Regions from separate parts of the Homo sapiens genome. Here all the other regions are linked to region 3. The links are contacts of gene promoters, found by promoter capture Hi-C in human tissues and cell types (Jung and others, 2019). All regions are on one chromosome and are shown on one strand. Each heading gives the region's core, a stretch centred on a gene start or on the middle of the fragment in contact. The rest is flanking DNA. Distances are from core to core; before and after follow the strand shown. Region 1 holds the start of TNFRSF13B (TNF receptor superfamily member 13B). Region 2 holds the start of ALKBH5 (alkB homolog 5, RNA demethylase). Region 3 overlaps PEMT (phosphatidylethanolamine N-methyltransferase).

Region 1 (2,918 bases), core at 366-2,865, 610 kb before region 3:
TTTTTAACCGCAGGGCTTCTCAGAGCCTTTCCTCATGACTCCCCAAGAGGGGGTCTGGTAGTTTCATCAAAGCACTTTTGTGTGTTTGAGGGATGTCTGGTAGGAAAGACAGTCTTCTTCATTTTACACTGAGGGGAAGCGGCTCAGCCAAGGTCCCAGAGTGGGCCAGTGGACAACCGGCCAGGGCTGATTCGGCAGCACCAGACAGCTTCTGCCACTGCCAGGTCACAGTTCTAGCTGGGTCCTGACTCGTGGCCCCAGAGCACTGGGCAATTTCATCCTGTGTTAAGGCAGCCTCTGGTCACTGCCTTGTCCAAGTCTCTCAGAAACTTTACATATTTGAGCCCCTGGCTGTGTAGATTCTGGGGACTTGGTGGCTGGACACAAAAAAGGACTGAAGAACAAATTTGCTCCCTGCCTGAGGTGTGGGACAGAGCAGCAGGCAGAGGCTGTGAATCTAGGCTGTGCCCCGGGTCCATCTGGCCATGGGTTCTGTCTGCACTAAAGGACCTGGGGCCCTTTCATAAAACCTTAGAAACCCACCCTGATGAAAATGCTATACGGGCCGGGTGCCGTGGCTCATGCCTGTAATCCCAATACTTTGGGAGGCTGAGGCAGGTGGATCACCTGAGGTCAGGAGTTTGAGATCAGCCTGGCCAACGTGGCGAAAGCCTATCTCTACTAAAAATACAAAAAATTAGCCGGGCGTGGTGGTGGGCACCTATAATCTCAGCCACTCGGGAGGCTGAGGCAGGAGAATGGCTTGAACCCGGGAGGCGGAGGTTGCAGAAAGCCGAGATCATGCCATTGCACTCCAACCTGGGTGACAGAGCAAGACTCTGTCTCAAAAAACAAAAACAAAAACAAAACAACAAAACAAAAAAAAAGAAAGCTATAGGATAAATATAAATATAAATATATAACAGAAAAAATGGGTGGAAACTGTTATAGATTAAAACATAGCCAAAAGTCTAATGTGGGACAGGCTGATTTGAACAAGTCAACTGAGAAAGACATTGGTGAGACAGTTGGTACAGTTTGAACCCTGGCGGGCTATGTGATGATGTTCAGGAATTGTTGTTTCAGCAGGGGTGAAGGTATGATGCTTAGTTTTTTGTTTTGTTTTTAGGGTTTGTGTTCTTAAGGAATAAATCCTGTGGTCTCCACAACTCAAACAATCTGGTATTTGAGATTAGCATTAAAATGGTCCAGCGGGCATGTAAGGGGGAAAATGGGGGCTGTGCAGGGGCCATGGTGACAAAGGGAATTCCTGCCGGTGTGGCCAACCCTGCAACCTCAGTGGCTTCTGTCACGGAAGGCAAGCCCCACATCCCAGAGGCATCCAGACTCGGGGCTCTCCATGTGCAGGAGCTTGGGGAGGCTGGGACTGCCCCAGTGTGTGGATCTGCTGTGGGCTTTGCACCTGCTGGACCTTGCAACCCCCACGGCACTCAGGCCCAACCCTCCTCACACCTCCCACCTGCCCTCCTGCCCTCCTGCCCGGCTACTCACAGCGCTCCTCCTGGTCCACACGGCTCCGGCCACCTCGCCTGCTCCGGCCCAGGCCACTCATTACTCAGGATGCTTATTACTAGTCTTAGATTTGATTAGTGCTTGGGCTGCACTTCCTGGGTTTTCCCCTCAACCTGTTGGATGTAAATCAGCCACACCCACTCCCGCCCCCATGCCTGTGCATTGGGTCTCAGGAGCCCAGGTGGGTGGCTGCGGCCCAGGCTCCTGGCGTCCCATGGGGTACACACAGAGCAGTGGAAGGCCTGCCGGGCCTTGCGATGAGGTATTGACTATGGGATGGCCCAGGCTCTTCTAGATCTGGCCTTGGCCATCCCTTGGTCCTCATCTCCTGCCCGCCGGCACACACCCCAAGCCAGGCCAGCTCTCCACCCTCCCAGCATCACTCAGGCCTTTCCCTCTTCCTGGGTATACTTATTCTATTCATTGCCTGGTCGGCTCCTCCTGCTCTTCCTTCAAGGCTCCATTGAGGTGTCACCTCCTCCAGGAAGCCATCCCTGACTGTCCCAGCCTGTCAGGTGGTACTCATTCTCTGTATCTCCTTGACCCTCTCCAACACCTAGCAGAGCACTGGAGAGGCTGAACCCCAGGACCGGACAGCCTGCGTTTGAATCTTGACTCTGCTGCATACTAGCAGAAGGCCTTGGTGGCAATTTATGGAACTCTTCTGTGCCTCCATGTTCTCTGTGTAAAACAAGGATGAGGTCGGGCATGGTGGCTCACGCCTGTAATCCTAGCACTTTGGGAGGCCGAGGCAGGTGGATTGTCTGAGCTCAGGAGTTCGAGACCATCCTGGGCAACACGGTGAAACCCCATCTCTACTAAAAAAAAATACAAAAAATTAGCCGGGTGTGGTGGCGCGTGCCTGTAGTCCCATCTATTTGGGAGGCTGTGGCAGGAGAATGAACCTGGGAGTCAGAGGTTGTAGTGAGCCGAGATCGTGCCATTGCACTCCAGCCTGGGCAACAGAGATGCCATCTCAAAAAAAAAAAAAAAAAAAAGGATGAGAACATTGCCCGCCTCACAGGCGGTTATGAGCATGAAATGAGGGAGGGAGCACAGTTACATTCTTAGAGCAGGTTCTTGGCACACAGTAAGTCCTCAATAAAGGCCGTGGAGGAGGAACATTACAGCCCGTATTGCACTGCATGGCGACTGCACTCCTGTGTCTTCCCCATCGTCTGAAACCTCCCAGGGGATGGGAGGCCCAGCAACAGCCAAAGGCGGAGTGAGAGGAACGTAAAAGCCAAAGAAAGCCCATGGGCCCTTAGGAAGAAACTGAAGGACGAGGAGGACATGGAGAGGTGGAGAGGAAGGAGGGAGGCTGCAGGAAGCAGCTGGAGCAGGGTGATGGTGCACAGAGCAGGAGAGGAGATGCAGACGGTCAG
Region 2 (3,141 bases), core at 94-2,593, 600 kb after region 3:
CAGGGGAACTTTATCCTGGGAGACATGGGAGATTTTCCAGCAGATCCCCCCCGACCCCCATTTGTTGGAGCCCTCCAGTGCATCCTGCACGGCTACGCCTTTTTGTTTTGTTTTGCAGCTCTGTCGCCCAGGCCGGAGTGCAGTGGCGCCAGCTCGGCTCTCTGCAGCCTCAATCCCCTGGGCTCAAGGGATCCTCCCACCTCAGCCTCCTGAGTAGCTAGGACCATAGGCGCGCGCCACCACGCCCAGTTCATTTTTAAAAATTTTATTGTAGAGATGGGGTTGCCATGTTGGCCAGGCTGGTCTCAAACTCCTGGGCTCAAGTGATCCGCCCGCCTTGGCCTCGCAAAGTGCTGGGATTACAGGCGTGAGGCCCCGCGCCCGGCAACGCCTTTGCTGACTGCTTCAAAACTTTTTTGAATTGACTGTAGTCATTATCTATAGCTTAGCCTTAGCCTTGCGCCCGTTCGTTTCCTGGAGTTTTCTTCCAGAGTCCCCGTAGGAGGTGCCCCCACGCCCATCTCCAGCACCAAGGAGGCTCGACGCCAACCCCAGCGCGCCCCCACGCTCGCCGTCACCGGGACGTGACTCGTGAAACGTCCGCTCCGGGCGGCGGCGGCAGCGGCGGCAGGCTGGCTTGTACCCCGACAACGCGCGTCTGGCTTCTGCCGGACGTTCCTATCTGGGTTCAGAACTGGGGCCGGGTGCTGCAGGTCCCGCAGTCTGAGAAGTTTTCGCGGGTTTCAGAAGTTTCCTTAGGCGTTCTAAGGGCTTTACTCAGGTGGAGTCTCCATTCAGGCACTTATTTAACCACCCATTTCTCCTTTAGGGGTCCTCGCTGCTCGCCCAGCCGCTAATTAAGTGACGGACACAGTAGCTAAGGAGACTGCCTGATTGACACGCATGATTACCAACCGACTTCCGGAAACTCCAGTCAGGGCCTGCCCGGCGCGTGGCCCACGGCCCAATTAAAGAAGTGGAAGCGCCAAAGGGGGAGGTAACGGAGCGGCCTACGTTGTGGCGGTTCCCTGGTGAATGCGCCCTGGGGTTGAGGCGTCTGCGGGCGTTCGGACGATGCCGTGACGCGGCACGGCGACACTGTTGGCAATATGAGCGCACCCCTGTAGAGGGAGCCCTTCGGTCCTGGAGGCGGCGCGGCGTGAAGACAGGTTGCTATTTGAGAGCGTTCCCTTGAAGCCCCTCAGAGAGTGGGGGAGGGGCGGCGGACGGCAAGCGGTTCCTGTCTGCGCTTGCGCCGGCGCCTCTGCCGACCCGGCCTGCACGCACGCGCATGCCCGTAGCGCGCGGAGCCGCGGTGGCCGGCAGCACTGCGCGTGCGCGGTGAGGAGCCCGCTAAGGAGCGGCGCTGGCGGACGTCGGGCTGGCTGCCCGTGACGTCGTGCGGAGAGCTTTAAAGTGCGGGCCGGGCCGGGCGTCCGAGGGTCTGGTCGGGAGTCGGGCCGCGTCTCCGCAGCAGCCCTCCGCGGCATGAGGCGCTGCCGGCGCCCCTGCCCCGCGGGACGTGGAGAAGGTGGAGGAGGAAGAAGCCCCGTTGTCGCCACCGTTGCATGACCCGCCGCTCCTGAGGCCCTACCCCACGCCCGGACCCTCGACGCCCCCCGCCGGGTCCCCCACTCACGCATGGGGGTTCGGCGCTAAGGACCCCCCTCCCTCCGGGGGCCCCGGGGCGCGTCCCCTTAGAGCCATGCCCGGCTGCCCCGCCCGCCCCGGAGGACCCTAGAGCAGCGTCGTGGGGGCCATGGCGGCCGCCAGCGGCTACACGGACCTGCGTGAGAAGCTCAAGTCCATGACGTCCCGGGACAACTATAAGGCGGGCAGCCGGGAGGCCGCCGCCGCTGCCGCAGCCGCCGTAGCCGCCGCAGCCGCAGCCGCCGCTGCCGCCGAACCTTACCCTGTGTCCGGGGCCAAGCGCAAGTATCAGGAGGACTCGGACCCCGAGCGCAGCGACTATGAGGAGCAGCAGCTGCAGAAGGAGGAGGAGGCGCGCAAGGTGAAGAGCGGCATCCGCCAGATGCGCCTCTTCAGCCAGGACGAGTGCGCCAAGATCGAGGCCCGCATTGACGAGGTGGTGTCCCGCGCTGAGAAGGGCCTGTACAACGAGCACACGGTGGACCGGGCCCCACTGCGCAACAAGTACTTCTTCGGCGAAGGCTACACTTACGGCGCCCAGCTGCAGAAGCGCGGGCCCGGCCAGGAGCGCCTCTACCCGCCGGGCGACGTGGACGAGATCCCCGAGTGGGTGCACCAGCTGGTGATCCAAAAGCTGGTGGAGCACCGCGTCATCCCCGAGGGCTTCGTCAACAGCGCCGTCATCAACGACTACCAGCCCGGCGGCTGCATCGTGTCTCACGTGGACCCCATCCACATCTTCGAGCGCCCCATCGTGTCCGTGTCCTTCTTTAGCGACTCTGCGCTGTGCTTCGGCTGCAAGTTCCAGTTCAAGCCTATTCGGGTGTCGGAACCAGTGCTTTCCCTGCCGGTGCGCAGGGGAAGCGTGACTGTGCTCAGGTAACCCACCCGGGTGGAGGGGGCGGCCCTGCGCCTGCTGCCTTAGCTACCCACCCTGGCCCAGAAAGCAGCAGCCCGTAGGAGTCTGCGTTTTTTACAGTTCTGACCAGTTCTTCTGTTTGTAGATTGTAGGGAGCGAGAGAAGGGTTTTGTGTTTAAGATACCTATAGCAAGAAAATAGGGAACCGATGTGGAAATCCTGTCCCCGAAGGCAGGTTTGACGGGATCACTGACTTGGCTGAGAATTCATCGAAAGCCATCTTTTCAGAAGGCTGTTCCCTTTGATTTTTTTTTTTCCCACCATCCATTTCTTAGCATAAGTCCCTTTGTGATTTTCCGGTTTTCCATTCTGGCCTTCCATTTACAAATCTATGCTTTAAAATTTTTTTTTTTTTTAATTTATCTAAAAGTCTTTCTTGTTCTGCCATTTTTGGATTCCTTAACAGAGAAAGTAGTCACAGGCAAAGGCCCCAGAGATTATTTAATTGAAGCACATTCTCCATTCCCAGGAGGGGGAGTGACTTCCCTGGAGTTGAACAGATTAGTGGTTGGGCCAGGCATACAGAGCAGCACACTCTTAAAATTCTTCCCTCCTGGCTGCAGAAGAGCCCA
Region 3 (3,180 bases), core at 664-3,163:
CGCAGTGCCTGGCGGGGGGCATGGCTAGACAGACGCTGGCTGTGACAACTGTGTCATCGAGTCCTGGTGACAACCCTGCGAGGCATGCCCACTCTTCAGATTAAGAACTGAGGTGAGTGGCCAGGCGCGGTGGCTCACGCCTGTAATCCCAGCACTTTGGGAGGCCAAGACAGGTGGATCACCTGAGGTCAGGAGTTCAAGACTAGCCTAGCCGATATGGTGAAACCCCGTCTCCACTAAACATACAAAAATTAGCCGGGCGTGGTGGCAGGCGCCTGTAATCCCAGCTACTCTGGAGGCTGAGGCAGGAGAATCGCATGAACCTGGGAGGCGGAGGTTGCAGTGAGCTGAGGTCATGCCACTGCACTCCAGCCTGGGCGACAGAGCGAGAATCCATCTCAAAAACAAACAACAACAACAAAAAGAAGTGAGGTGAGGTATGAAGCAAAAGCTGACAGAACTAAAGGGTGGAAAAGACAAATCCACAGTTCTTGTTAGGGCCCTCCATGGTCCTCTCAGTGACTGAGAGAATCAAAGCAGTGGACAAGAAGGCTGCTGGAGCTGGCAAGGTCACCAAGTCTGCCCAGAAAGCTCAGAAGGCTAAATGAATATTATCCCTAATACCTGCCACCCCGCTCTTAATCAGTGGTGAAGAACGTCTCAGAACTGTTTGTTTCAATTGACCATTTAAATTTAGTAGTAAAAGACTGGTTAATGATAACAATGCATCATAAAACCTTTAGAAGGAAAGGAAAATGTTTTGTGGACCACTTTGGTTTTCTTTTTTGCCTGTGGCAGTTTTAAGTTATTAGTTTTTAAAATCAGTACTTTTGAATGGAAACAACTTGACCAAAAATTTGTCGGGCCGGGCGCGGTGAGTCATGCCTGTAATCCCAGCACTTTGAGAGGCTGAGGCGGGCGTATCATGAAGTCAGGAGATCGAGATCATCCTGGCTAACACGGTGAAACCCCGTCTCTACTAAAAAATTAAAAAAATTAGCTGGGCGTGGTGGCAGGCGCCTGTAGTCCCAGCTACTCGGGAGGCTGAAGCAGGAGAATGGCGTGAACCCGGGAGGTGGAGCTTGCAGTGACCCAAGATGGCGCCACTGCACTTCAGCCTGGGCGACAGAGCGAGACTCCGTCTCAAAAAAAAAAAAAAAATTGTCACAGATTTTTGAGACCCATTAAAAAAAATCTAATGAGAAAGAAAGAAAGAAAAAGAAAGAGAAAAAGAAAGAAAGAAAAAGAAAAAGAAGGAAGGAAAGAAAGAAAGAAAGAAAAAGAAAGAAAGAAAGAAAGAAAGAAAGAAAGAAAGAAAGAAAGAAAGAAAGAAAGAAAGAAAGAAAGAAAGAAAAAAAAAAACGCAGGTGGAAAATCGGGAGGACGCAGCTGACCTGAGCAGCGCCATCCAGTGGCTGGACCTGACCACAGCACATGGCAGCCTTGGGAACAGCCTGCAGTCTCTGGTGTCACCAAAACAGATCACACTTGGGGCCACCAAACAAACCTTAAATTTAAACGAATAGAAAGCATACACAGTATGCTCCCAAACCACCACAGAATTAAACTCGAAATCAGTCACAGAAAGCGATCGTGGAAAGAATGCACGCGAGGGCCAAATGGGAAGTCTTGGGAAATCTAGAAACATTTTGAACTGAATGAAAATGAGAATAGAACACATGAAACCCTGTGGGATGCGGCTAAGGCAGGGCTTCTATTAGTAAGGAAGAAAAGTCCCAGGTCAGGAATATAAGCTTTGCCCTTAAGAAATTACAGAAAGAGTGGCTGGGCGCAGTGGCTCATGCCTATAATCCCAGTACTTTGGGAGGCTGAAGCAGGCAGATTACTTGAGGTCAGGAGTTCAAGACCAGCCCGGCCAACATGGTGAAACCCCATCTCTACTAAATATACAAAAATTAACCAGGCGTGGTGGAGGGCGCCTGTAATCCTAGCTACTTGGGAGGCTGAGGCAGGAGAATTGCTTGAACCCGGGAGACGGAGGTTGCAGTGAGCCGAGATTGCACCACTGCATTCCAGCCTGGGCAACAGAGGAAGACTCCGTCTCAAAAAAAGAAAGAAAGAAATTAGAGAAAGAGGAATGAGTTAAACCCAAAGGAGGCAGGACAAAAAATTAAAGATAAGCAAAAATCAATCAAATTGAAAACAGGAAAACAATAGAGAAAAAAAAATTACACCCAAAGCTGGTTCTTTGGGGAAAATTTATTTTCCCAATAAAACTGAGAAACCTCCAGCCAGCCTGACCAAGAAAAAAAGAGAAAAGACACAAAATATCAATATCAGAAATAAAAGGGGGGACTTCTCTACTGACCTCACAAACATTAAAGTAATAATAAGGGAATACTATGAATAACACAAATTAAGTAACTTAGATGAAATGAACCGATCCTTGCAAGACACAACTGTCAAAATTCATTCAAGAAATAATCCTTTATCTTTTAAAGGATTTGAATTTATGGCTTAAAAACCTAAAAAAAGAAAGCCTTGAGCCCAGATGGTTTCCTGGATGAATTCTGCCTAACATTTAAGGAAAAAATAATTCCAATTCCACACAATCTCTTCCAGAATATGGAAGAGGGAGGCAATACTTCCCAACTCACTGTATTACCCTAACACTAAAACCAGGCCGGGTGCAGTGGCTCACCGCCTGTAATCCCAGCATTTTGGGAGGCCAAGGTGGGTGGATCACTTAAGGTCAGGAGTTTGAGACCAGCCTGGCCAACAACCCTGTCGCTACTAAAAATACAAAAAACAAAACAAAACAAAACAAAAACCAGGTGTGGTGGTAGGTGCACCTGTAATCCCAGCTACTCGGGAGCCTGAGGTGGGGGAATTGCTTGAACTCGGGAGGCGGAGGTTGCAATGAGCTGGTATCACGCCACTGCATTCCTGAGTACATGCCTGAGCAACAGAGCGAGACTCTGTCTTAAAATAAATAAATTAATTAAATCAAATGAAACCAGATAAAGAAAGAAGATCCCCCCAAAAATTAGAGCAAATCAAATCCAGCAATATATACAAAGGATAATATGTTAGGACCAGCCAGAGATCACCCCAGGAATCCAGAGCTAGTTCAACATTCAAAACATCAATGGAATTCATATTTACAGCTTAATGAGGAAAAACAGTGTCATCTCAACAGAGGCAGGGGAAACAAGCTCC

What was found. The method cuts DNA at HindIII sites, captures the fragments that hold promoters and counts their contacts. A contact is called where the count stands out against the background at its distance.
Region 1: a contact is called between the fragment with the promoter of TNFRSF13B here and a fragment that was not itself captured in region 3, in 1 of the 25 tissues and cell types used here (spleen).
Region 2: the fragment with the promoter of ALKBH5 here is called in contact with a fragment that was not itself captured in region 3 in 3 of the 25 tissues and cell types used here (dorsolateral prefrontal cortex, hippocampus and mesenchymal stem cells).

What each region holds. Positions count from the first base shown.
Region 1 is chr17:16,970,503-16,973,420 of GRCh38, forward strand. TNFRSF13B (TNF receptor superfamily member 13B) reads right to left here and starts at 1,616. Exons shown (of 5, transcript NM_012452.3): 1 at 1,513-1,616. The coding sequence starts at 1,573. The HindIII fragment of the contact is 7,559 bases long and covers 1-2,918 here.
Region 2 is chr17:18,182,485-18,185,625 of GRCh38, forward strand. It overlaps ALKBH5 (alkB homolog 5, RNA demethylase), which reads left to right and starts at 1,344. Exons shown (of 4, transcript NM_017758.4): 1 at 1,344-2,529. The coding sequence starts at 1,760. RefSeq lists enhancers at 732-931, 992-1,231, 1,339-2,176 and silencers at 1,442-1,741, 1,822-1,911, 2,070-2,221. The HindIII fragment of the contact is 6,004 bases long and covers 1-3,141 here.
Region 3 is chr17:17,584,938-17,588,117 of GRCh38, forward strand. The region is part of intron 1 of PEMT (phosphatidylethanolamine N-methyltransferase); the gene reads right to left. It also overlaps the pseudogene EEF1A1P43. Among named protein-coding and RNA genes, the nearest start is that of PEMT, 5.2 kb to the right of the region's middle. The HindIII fragment of the contact is 6,883 bases long and covers 1-3,180 here.